4 separate regions of the Homo sapiens genome follow, and regions 2, 3 and 4 are each linked to region 1. Evidence: promoter capture Hi-C in human tissues and cell types (Jung and others, 2019). All regions are on one chromosome and are shown on one strand. The core of a region is centred on a gene start or on the middle of the fragment in contact, and the rest is flanking DNA. Distances in the headings are between cores, read along the strand shown. Region 1 holds the start of LIMK1 (LIM domain kinase 1). Region 2 has its middle 16 kb from the start of GTF2IRD1. Region 3 holds the start of GTF2IRD1 (GTF2I repeat domain containing 1). Region 4 overlaps GTF2IRD1 (GTF2I repeat domain containing 1).

Evidence for each region. Contacts are between HindIII fragments. The study calls those that stand out against the background at their distance.
Region 2: a fragment that was not itself captured here is called in contact with the fragment with the promoter of LIMK1 in region 1 in 2 of the 25 tissues and cell types used here (mesenchymal stem cells and spleen).
Region 3: a contact is called between the fragment with the promoter of GTF2IRD1 here and the fragment with the promoter of LIMK1 in region 1, in 1 of the 25 tissues and cell types used here (stomach).
Region 4: a contact is called between a fragment that was not itself captured here and the fragment with the promoter of LIMK1 in region 1, in 4 of the 25 tissues and cell types used here (bladder, liver, lymphoblastoid cells and 1 more).

What each region holds. Positions count from the first base shown.
Region 1 is chr7:74,082,524-74,085,281 of GRCh38, forward strand. It overlaps LIMK1 (LIM domain kinase 1), which reads left to right and starts at 1,281. Exons shown (of 16, transcript NM_002314.4): 1 at 1,281-1,522. The coding sequence starts at 1,468. RefSeq lists enhancers at 1-659, 655-764, 660-1,338, 1,825-2,094, 2,606-2,758 and silencers at 1,035-1,304, 1,425-1,474, 1,585-1,634. The HindIII fragment of the contact is 14,309 bases long and covers 1-2,758 here.
Region 2 is chr7:74,436,324-74,439,023 of GRCh38, forward strand. No RefSeq gene overlaps it. Among named protein-coding and RNA genes, the nearest start is that of GTF2IRD1, 16 kb to the right of the region's middle. The HindIII fragment of the contact is 4,196 bases long and covers 1-2,700 here.
Region 3 is chr7:74,452,456-74,455,155 of GRCh38, forward strand. It overlaps GTF2IRD1 (GTF2I repeat domain containing 1), which reads left to right and starts at 1,451. Exons shown (of 27, transcript NM_005685.4): 1 at 1,451-1,721. RefSeq lists an enhancer at 1-266 and silencers at 1,152-1,501, 2,004-2,073. The HindIII fragment of the contact is 14,749 bases long and covers 1-2,700 here.
Region 4 is chr7:74,584,472-74,587,171 of GRCh38, forward strand. All of the region lies in intron 22 of GTF2IRD1 (GTF2I repeat domain containing 1), which reads left to right. Among named protein-coding and RNA genes, the nearest start is that of MIR10525, 10 kb to the right of the region's middle. The HindIII fragment of the contact is 6,527 bases long and covers 1-2,700 here.

The sequences.
Region 1 (2,758 bases), core at 31-2,530:
AATCCCAGCACTTTGGGAAGCCGAGGAGGGTGGATCACCTGAGGTCAGGAGTTCAGGACCAGCCTGGTCAACATGGTGAAACCTCATCTCTACTAAAAATACAAAAATTAGTCGGTCATGGTGGTGCACGCCTGTAATATCAGCTACTCGGGAGGCTAAGGTGGGAGAATTGCTTGAACCTGGGAGGTGGAGACTGCGGTGAGCCGAGATCCCGCCACTGCACTCCAGCCTAGGCAACAGAGCGAGACCGAATCTAAAAAAAGAAAAAAAAAATCTAGTATTTTCTTCCCACCCCACGTAATTGTTTTGCACCCAGGGGTGAGTGCCCCCCACTTTGCAGACGTGCCTAGACCTCTCCCCACAAACATGATGACTAGAGTTGGAGCTGGGCTAGCGCTGCCTCTTGTTCACTGGGTTCACGTGGGCACGTGGCTCCACTCCGGTCACTGCTTCCTGGGCAGAGGGATGACGTGGAAGGTAGACCTAGGGGGGACAGGGTTGCTTCCTGCCCATGTCCAGCATTCTAGAATTGTCCACATCTAGGCAGGGCGTTCCACCATCAGTGCTGGACTGGACCACCCAATTCCTTTGGACGCTTGACTCAGCCCAAACCCGTGCTCCCTCCAGGACCCTGGGCAGGGCAGCCCCAGCTCCAGGTAATCGGCACTGAGAAGAGTACACCTGTCACCGCCTGGCAGGGGCTCGCTCCTTTCTCTGGTGCTGCTCATTCGCGAGGCCTGAGACGCGGACCGTCACCTTCCCCGGGCCCAGCCTGGCCTCAATGCAGGCCTCAGAGAGAGGGACAAAACCCGGCCCGCCTCCCTCCCCTCCCCAAGGCGACCACCAGTGTCCTGGGGGTCCACAGGGCCTCTCCAGCTCTGATCCGAGTTCCCGGCTGCAGCTGGTTTGGGTCTGTGGGGGCCTCGCGCAGGGAAGCGGAGGCCCCTTCTCTAGGCTCCTACATCCTCCTGGCCTGCCCCAGCAGAGCTAGCGGCCCTCCGAGACAGCTGGGCCTCGCAGCTCCCAGCCGAGGCCTGTCGCTGGGAGAAAGAAGAATGAATGAAGGGCGGAAGGGGCGGGGAGGGGCGGGGCGCGCCGCGCCAGCTCGCGGCGCCCCCAGGCCGGGCCGCAGCGGGGCGTGGCCTCTAGAGGCGTGGCCTTGGGCGTGGGGGCGGGGTTTTCTGGTGGGGGCGGGGCCGCGCAGGGCCGTTCCCGCCGCCGGCCGCCCGCGCCCCGCCCCCGTGCCGCAGCTCACAGGCCCCGCCTCGGTCCGCCCCTCCGCTCGCTCCCCAAGCCGCCGCGGCGCCGAGCCGGTTTCCCCGCCGGTGTCCGAGAGGCGCCCCCGGCCCGGCCCGGCCCGGCCCGCGCCCTCCGCCCCCGCCTCCCCGGGCCGGCGGCGGTGGGCGAGCTCGCGGGCCCGGCCGCCCCCAGCCCCAGCCCCGCCGGGCCCCGCCCCCCGTCGAGTGCATGAGGTTGACGCTACTTTGTTGCACCTGGAGGGAAGAACGTATGGGAGAGGAAGGTGCGCGGGCCGCGGGGTGTGGGGCGAGGGCCTGGAGGGGGTGCCCGGGGCAGCGTGGGGCACGGGAGGGGGCCGGGTCTGCCAGGAGGCCGCGCCCCTGCCTCCTCCGGGATGAGCTCGTCCTTACGAAGCCCGCAGGCCCCTCCCTGTCCCCCTCCCGCCCGGGATCCCCCTCCCCGGCCCCCGGCGAGCTGCCCTCCTGCGGGTCTGGGGGCCCCTGGACCCTTTTTCCTCCTCCCACGTCCCCCCGCGAAGGACTCCCAGACACTGCCCACCCCGCGTCGGCCTCCATCCGCGTGCTCTGTCCACCACCCGGGCCTCGCCCTGGGGCCACCCTTTATCCAGTCTCGGAAGAAAGAGCGGCTGGGGAAGCCGCAGCCCCGGGTCCCAGTGGCCGCCGGGCGCCTGCCCGGCTCTGTGACCTTGAGCCAGGCGCTGACTTCCTGGTCCTCAGTTTCCCCTTCTGTACATTTGGAAACTGGGTAGTTGCCCCCCCGGTGTCGGTGATTGGGGGCCAGATGGGTAGAGCGGAGATAGGCGTCCAGGAAGCCGGAGGCCGTGTACTGCGGGAGCCTCATCCACTCTCCCTGTCCGTGCCCCAAACCCGGTGCCTGCCCTCAGTCTTGGCTGGGAGCATGACTCATCCTAACCTCCTCTTTAGCCCCTTCTCCCTCACTGGGGCCCAAGGCGCAGTACTGCACTGCAGTTAGGGTTCAAGGACTCCCCCAGCCTAGGACAGGGTCTGGGGGCCCCTCCTTGGATCTCCTTCGCTGACCTGTCACTTAGATCCACCTGGCCCCAAGGCAGGGCCTGACTCCACACCTCCCCCTGCCACCAACTCTTCCCAGGCCCATGAAAACCTGATTGGGGTAGGGGCCCACCTTCCTGTAGCCCCTGCCTACCTAAGGTACCTGCGTCTTCACAGAGGGTCAGGCTGTTGTGGCCTTGGGACCTAGCTATGTGACTGGGCAAGCCATGCCATCTCTGGGGCTCAGTCTCCCCTTCTGTACAGTGGAGAGGGGCAGGTCTGGGGCATTTTCCAGGGCCCACCAGCTCCAAGGGTGCCAGGCCCCAAGGATGACTAAGCATGCCTGTGGCTGGCTAGAGGAGGTGCCAGGCCTCCCTGGGACAGGTGTCTGGGAGTACCCAGGTCTGCAGCCCCCTCCCCTTGCCAAGCCAGGGCATTCATTGCCAAGGATCTGTTAGGGCCGGCACCTCCAGGCTTCCTGCCCTTGA
Region 2 (2,700 bases), core at 46-2,545, 350 kb after region 1:
ACTCTGCTCACACATGGCAGAAGGTGGAAAGGCAAAGGGTCCTAAGCTAGTTCCCTCCAGCCCTTTTATAAGGCACCAATCTGTAGGCTCATGCTCTCATGACCTAATTACTTCCCAAAAAGACCCCACCTCTCAATACCACCACCACAATGAGTAAGTCTCAACATGAATTTTGGAAGAGACATCATCATTGAAATCATAGCATTCTGCTCCTGGGCCCCCAAAACTCATGTCCTTTTCACGTTCACATATGACATACATTCATTCCAGCCAGGCACAATGGCTCACGTCTGTAATCCCAGCACTTTGGGAGGCCAAGGTGGGAGGATCACCTAAGCCCAGGAAGTCGAGGCTGCAGTGAGCCACAATTGCGCCACTGCACTTTAACCTGGGCAACAGAGTAAGACCTTGTCTCAAAACAAAACAAAACAAACAAACAAACATACTACTCATTTTATCCCAGTAGCCCTGAAAAGCCTTAACTGATTCTAGCATCAACTTTAAAGTCCAAGTCCAAAGTCTCATCTAAATATTATCTACCTCAGATATGGGTAAGACTCTAGGGTGTGTTTCATCCTGAGGCATCAATATGCCTCCTGCTGAGTCTATGAAATCAAACAAGTAAAGTGCTTCCAAAAGACAACAGTGGGCCAGGTACAGGACAGATGTTTCCATTCCGAAAGGGGGAAGTAGGAAAGAAGGAAAGGATTGAAAAAAAAAATAGAATAAGGAAAGAAGGAAAGGATAATAGATCCTAAGTAAGTCCCAAACCCAACAGGGCAAACAACATTAAATTTTCCTGCTCTGTCGCCCAGGCTGGATTGCAGTGGTGCTAGCATAGCTCACTGCAGACTCAGCCTCCTGGGCTTAAGTAATCCCCTGGCCTCGAGTGGCTGAGACCACAAGAACATGCCACCATGCCCAACTAAATTTTTTTTTTTTGGTAGAGGTGAAGTCACACCATGTTGCCCAAGCTGGTCTTGAAATCCTGGGCTCAAGCAATCCTCCCAGCTCAGCCTCCAGAGCAGGTGGCACTATAGGCGTGTGCCACCACACCTGGATAATTTTTTTTTTTTTTGAGACAGAGTCTCACTCTGTTGCCTAGGCTGGAGTGTAGTGGTGCAATCTTGGCTCACTGCAACCTCCACCTCCCAGGCTGAAGCAATTCTTGTGCCTCAGCCTCCTGAGTAGCTGGGATTACAGGCATGAGCCACCACACCCTGCTAATTTTTGTATTTTTAGTGGAGACAGAGTTTTGCCATGTTGCCCAGGCTGGTCTCAAACTCCTGGGCTCAAGTGATCCACCTGCCTTGGCCTCCCAAAGTGCTGGGATTACAGGTGTGAGCCACCGTGCTCGGCCTCTTATTAATCTTCTTATTACCCTTGGTATTTTTTCTCTCTCTCCCTTTTTTTTTTTTTTTTTTTTTTTTTTTTTTGAGATGGAGTCTCACTCTGTCATCCAGGCTGGAGTGTGATGGCGTGATCTCAGCTCACTGCAACCTCTGCCTCCCGGGTTCAAGCGTTTCTCCTGCCTCGGCCTCCTGAGTAGCTGGGATTAGAGGCGCACACCATCACACCTGGCTAATTTTTCTATTTTTGGTAGAGACGGGGTTTCACTATGTTGGTCAGGCTGGTCTCAAACTCCTGACCTCATGATCCATCCGCCTCAGCCTCCCAAAGTGCTGAGATTACAGGCGTGAGCCACCGGGTATTTTGTCTTAAACACACTTTTACAACCTGGCCAGTCTGAGAATTTTTCAAATCTTTATTCTGCCTCCCTTTTTATTATAAATTCTGTCTTTAGTTAATCCCTCTCTTGTTGCATTTTACTATCAGCAGTTAAGAGCAACCATGTAGCACCCTGAACACTTTGCTCAGAGATTTCCTCCAACAAATATATTAGTTCATCACTCTTAAATTCTACTTTCCACAAAGTAGTAGGACATGAACAAAATTCAGCTAAGTTCTTTGCCATTTTGTAACAAGGATGACCTTTTCTCTGGTTTCCAATAAAATATTTCTCATTTCTGTTTAAGACCTCATCAGAATTGCCTTTACCATCCACATTTTTACCACCTTCTGATTATGACCACATACGTAATCTCTAAAAACATTAAGGCTGTCCCTGCAGCTTTCCTTTTCTTCTGAGCCTTCACCAGAATAGCCCTTTACAGACCAGCCTCTACCTATTAGTCAGTTTCAAAGCTGCTTTCACATTTTTAGTTTTTGGTTATACAAACACCCGACTCCTGGTACCAATTCCTGTCTCACTCTGTTTGTGCTGCTATAATAAAATACCTGAGACTGGATAATCTATATAAATAATAGAAATTTATTTCTAATAGTCTGCAAGCTGGGAATGCAAAGATTAAGGCACCAGCAGGTTTAGTGTCTGGGGAGGGCCCCAGTCTTTTCTTCTAAGATGGTGCCTTGAACACCATGTCCTCACATAGCAGAAGAGCTGGACGGGCAATAAAGGGCCTACACTAGTTCTTTCCAGCCCCTTTGTAAGGCACTAATTCATTCACAAGGGTAGAGCCCTCATGAGTTCACAAGGATAAAGCTCTCAATCACTTACCCCAAAAGGCCCCACCTCCTAATACCACTACAATGGAGATGTTCAACATGAATTCTGGAGGGGATACCATCATTCACATCATAGCAAGGCCGTAGATAGGCCCACACACCACCCCTCATTTA
Region 3 (2,700 bases), core at 201-2,700, 370 kb after region 1:
GTGGGGGCCACAGGATGGGCTGAGTCATGAGTCACACAGGTCCAGGTGAGTCAGTCGGTTGCCCGAATGCGAAAGTCTGAAAAACATCTCCAAAGACCAATCTCAGTTTCCACAATAGAGATGCTATCTATAGGAGGAAGTGGGGAACTCACAAATCTTGTGATCTCTCGCCACATGACTCCTGAGCAGTCAGATTATAAAAACGATGCGTAGGTTTTAGCAGCGTCCAGGCCCCTCCCATAATCCTAATCTCACGGCCTTTCGTTAGTTTTACAAAGGTGGTTTTGGTCTCTTGTATAAAAAGCAGGTTAGGTTTAAGGAGTAACTATTATCATCCTTGTTTCAAAGTTGAACTATAAACTAAATTCCTCCCCCGGTTAGCTTGGCCTATGCCCCGGAATGAGTGAAGACAGCCAGCGCGTGAGGCTGGAAGCAAGATGGAGTCAGCCACGCTAAACTTCTGTCACTGTCCTAATCTTTGCAAAGGCAGTTTGGCCAGGAGGCTGTGGGGAGACCTTGTGGGTTTTGCCAGGACCTGGGAGATTCTCGATCTATGTTTGGCTGTCCTTCTAAGCCAGAAGCTCCCTGGGGTTGGGGCCTGCCTGGGGTGAGTCCCTCCCTCCCTGCCATGCCCAGTCTAGCCAAGGTCTAGTTCAGGGATCAGGGCACCACGTGGGGGAAGGACTGTGTTCCTTGTGCTGAATTAGGATTTATGGCTTTGGGGCCGGATGGGAGGCGTGCGCACTGATTCAGTAGGAGCGCTGCTGTGGTGTGTGTGTGGTTGGTGGGAGCGGGGCGGGCGGGGGGCGGGGGGGCTGGTTGGGGGGACAGGGGTAAAAGCCTATCAGAGGGAGGTCCCATCAGACAAGATGGGACCAAGAGTCCAGTTGGCTCTGCTGCGACTTTCGGCCTGTCACTGCCTTCCTGCACATCTCAGGGGTGGGAGGGGGACAAAGGCTGTAAGAGTAAGAGGTACCTGGCCCAAGCCTTAGGACTAGAACCCGGGCCAGGCGGGAGTGACCAGCCGGGACACTCAGGGCCTCCGCGCGTTCCAGCTGGGTGACCTTGACCCTCCAACTTCAGCCCCCTGCGCCCGGCTGCTCTCCCAGTGGTGGTGGGGAGCGGTGGGGGTAGACGGGGGCGCGCCCAGGCTTTTCTAATCCGGCGCTGGTGGGGGAGAACCGAGGGCGCCACCGCCCCTCCCCGCAGGTCCGGGGCCGAGGGGTGCGGCGCGCTCTCCCCACCGCGGTGCCCAGGTCCCCGGGACGCAGGGGCGCTGGGTAGCAAGGGGGGTGCGCAGGGGCGCGGGGCGCGGGGCGGGCTAATCCCGTATGTAAATGGCAGCCAATGGAGGGTGGTGTTGCGCGGGGCTGGGATTAGGGCCGGGGCGAATGGCTGGCAATCTTACTGGGATTACAGAACAAAGAGCCTCCCCGCGCTCCCGCTCTCCGCTCCTCTCCCCGCGCCGCCCCGCCCTCCGCCGCAGCCCGCGCCGGGGGTGGGGGCCGCCGAGCGCCAGCCCCCCGGCCGGCCGATTCCCCCCCCGCGCCCCCTCCCCGCGCCTCCCTCCCCGCCCTCGCCGCGCCGCCGTCCTCGCCTCCCTCTGCCTCTCCTTCCCCCATTCTCCCGGATTAATTAAGGAGGCAGCGGCAGGAGGCTGAGTCCTGGCCGCGGGCCGGGGCCGGGGCGCCGCTGGCAGGAGCGCTTGGGGATCCTCCAAGGTAGGAGAAACTTTTGCGGGGGGCGGGCACCGAGGCCCTTCTCCCCTTCTCCCCCACCCCCGCCCCCGATCCCCTCCGCCTCCGGGGGGGGGGGTCCCCGCCCCTCCCCCTCTCAAGGTGTTACAGGAGCTGGGGCCGGCTTTTGGGTGCCCGGGGAGGCACGTGACTGGGATTATAATTCGGGCCCGGGGGGAGGGGAGGGACGGCCGCCCCCCACCTGCCCGGGAGGGGCCGGGAGCTGGGAGCTGTCACCCCCTCCCTCCTTGCCACCGGCTCTTCTGGAGGTGGGGGGCGTCCCGGGCCGGCGCCCGCAGGCTGCTGCAGTTGGCGAATGAGGTCAGTCGCGCTGCCCGCGGTGGCGGGCGCCGGGGTGGGAGCAGAGGGGGCTGGGAAGGCCGCGGTCCCCGCCTTTCCCCCCTCCACCTTCTCCCGGTCTGGGCCAGCCCCTGGCCCGCGCCCCCAACTCCCAGGCGGAGTCCAGTCCAGCCAGGATTGCCCCAGCAGGGTGGTTCCTGTAGTGGACCCCCCGCCCCGGCCCCGGGGAGGGGGCTGGCCTGTGTGGTGGTGGCCGCTGAATCCCGGGTGGAGGGGACTCAGAAGGTGGCAGTGGGGGGACCACAAAGGGTTCAGAGGAGTAAGTTGGGGATACTCGGTCTGTGGGTGGTCTCTGAGTTCCTGCAGATGGGTGGAGAGGACAGAGGAGGGGCCACAGGGTGCTGAACACCCACCCGCCCCATCCTAAGTACCCTGGGCATGATGGGCTTGACACCTCTCCTGGGCTCCTCACCCCTGGCCAGCAGCCAGGGAGTGAGACCCTGCCTCGCCTGGCGTGGGCCCAGGGAAGGGGGCCGCTGTGCCGCTGAGAGTTCGTTCCACCCTCCTGGCAGTGCTGGAGGGGGCTGGAGCTCTGGCGTCTGGCCTAGTGACCCTACCTCCCAGGACCAAGGTCCTGCGGTGGGAGTCTCCTGTGTCCCCATCC
Region 4 (2,700 bases), core at 142-2,641, 500 kb after region 1:
AATAGTTAATGATGTATTTATCCTGTGCTCAGTAAATCTGCCTTTTACATAAGATAAAGTAAATAGAGTAGAGGAAGTCATATAGGCATTTGTCTTGGGTAGACAGAGCAATGATTTCTATTCTTATCTTTGTCCCCTGCCTGTGAAGATAAGCTGTGAATTTACATGGCCAGGGTGAGGGAGGCCACCAGGGGAGCTAGGTGGCCTTCTATCTTGCAGCCATCTGTTTAGGAACAAAAGGCTATTGCGTGACTCAGTTCCCAAGCTTAACATTTCCCTTTGGCATAGTAAGTTTGGGGTCCCATGTTTTTTGTTTGTTTGGGTTTTTTGTGTGTTGTTGTTGTTTTGAGATGAAGTCTCGCTCTTGTCCCCCAGGCTGGAGTACGATGGCGCGATCTTGGCTCTCTGTAACCTCCGCCTCCCAGGTTTAAGCGATTCTCCTGCCTCCGCCCCCGGAGTAGCTGGGATTACAGGCACCTGCCACCACGCCTGGCTAAATTTTGTACTTTTAGTTGAGACGGGGTTTCACCACGTTGGACAGGCTGGTCTCGAACTTCTGAGCTCAGGTGATCCACCCACCTCGGCCTCCCAAAGTGCTGGGATTACAGATGTGAGCCACCGCGCCCAGCCTGTTTGGTGTTTTTTTTTTTTTTTTTTTTGAGACGGAGTCTTGCTCTGTCGCCTAGGCTGGAGTGCAGTGGCGCAATCTCAGCTCACTGCAACCTCCACCTCCCAGTTCAAGGGATTCTCCTGCTTCAGCCTCCTGAGTAACTGGGATTACAGGCATGCACCACCACGCCCAGCTAATTTTTTGTATTTTTAGTAGAGACGGGGTTTCACCATGTTGGCCAGGCTGGTCTGGAACTCCTGACCTCAAGTGATCCACCTGCCTCGGCCTCTGAGAGTGCTGGGATTATAGGCGTGAGTCACCGTGCCCGGTCTGGGCCTCGTCTTTGAGAGGCCTGCTAAGCTTCTTTCTGTCCTGCAGGTTTCGTAGAGCTCTGACTTTGAGTCTCGCTCTGTCCCGACACAGGAGAAGACAGAGGTGTGGCATTGTGGGCTGAGAGCAACAGATTAGAGGAAACTATCTTAAAGATTAAGCCTTCTTTCTACAGCTACTGTAGGGGAGCCTGGGCATGGTGGTTCACGTCTGTAATCCCAGCACTTTGGGAGGCCGAGGTGGGCGAATCACCTGAGGCCAGGAGTTGGAGACCAGCCTGAGTAACATGGTGAAACCCCATCTCTACTAAAAATACAAAAATCAGCCAGGTGTGATGGTGGGTGCCTGTAATCCCAGATACTCGAGAGGCTGAGGCAGGAGAATCACTTGAACCCAGCAGGCAGAGGTTGCAGTGAGCCAAGATCGCACCACTGCACTCCAGTCCAGCCTGGGTGACAGAGCAAGACTCTTCCAAAAAAAAAAAGAAAAAGAAAGAAACTGTAGAGGAATCTGAGACCTCAGGAAACCCAGGGCTCATGGTAGAGTGGAAAGACCAGGGCTTTGGGGTTGACACAGAGTACTCCTGGTGCTTAGAGGCTGTGTGACCTTGGGCAAGTTTCTTTACCTCTCTGAGCCTCTGTGTCTTTGGCTGCAGTGTCTAGGAAAGCATCTGCACACAGTGATGTGTGTGATCCAGGCCATCCTTTCTCTGTTCTGTGCATGCATGGCCATGCCTGCTGAGAATCCTGCCACCAAAGATTCCTCAGTGGCATGGGGACAGATGGAATGTGCTGTTGCTTCCCTGCAGGCTCTAGGAGCTGGTCCTTGGGCCCAGGACTCCATCACTGTTGTCTGCATGGATTTGGACAAGGGTGGCCTTGATTCTTCCCACATCCTAGTCCTGAAAGGAAGGCCCGTGTTGGGTCACAGGAGAAGACGAGGGTTCTAGGGGATGTGGAGCGTGGGGTCTTTGTGTGGCTGAATTAGAGGCATTACTCCACGAGATAGGGACACGGGAGGAGGACGTTGTCTGGAATGGCTGATGTTTGCAGTGTCTCTGGGCACGCAGGGGGGCTGGCGGGCCGTGCCTGAAGACAGATCAGCAACTCAGAGATGTGCAGAGATTGCTGAGTGTGGGTGTGGACGGACCAGGCCAGGGACCTGCAGGGTTTGGGAGGACCTGAGGTGGTGGGTGTTGGAGCCCTGGGAAAAGGAGGAACCAGGCCAAGCAGGTGCCCAGCCTCTGTCCTGTGGGAAGCTCCCTGCTCTTTGGGGCAACCCCCACATGGGGAACAGGGCCTCCATTCTGGCAGCTTGCGCACGGGAGGCCAAGCCACCCAGACGGGGTCAGCAGACTCTAAGCAGCACAGAGCACCACGCCAGGAGATGCAGTTCCCAAGGCAGCCTCCTAAACAGAAGTGAGCTCTTCCCAGAGTTTTCAAGATTAAAAGAGCCAGACACAGTGGCTCACAACTGTAATCCCAGCACTTTCGGAGGCTGCGGACAGGAGGATCGCTTGAGCTTAGGAGTTCGAGAACAGCCTGTGCAACAGAGAGAGACTCTCTCTACAAAAAATTTTAAAAAAACTTAGTCTGGCATGGTGATTCATGCCTGGAGCCCCAGCTACTTGAGAGGCTGAGTGGGGAGGATTGCTTGAGCCAAAGAGTTCAAGGCTGCAGTGAGCTATGATGGCACCACTGTACTCCAACCTGGGAAACAGGGTGAGACCCTGTCTCAAAAAACAGGAGTCAGGCTGGGCA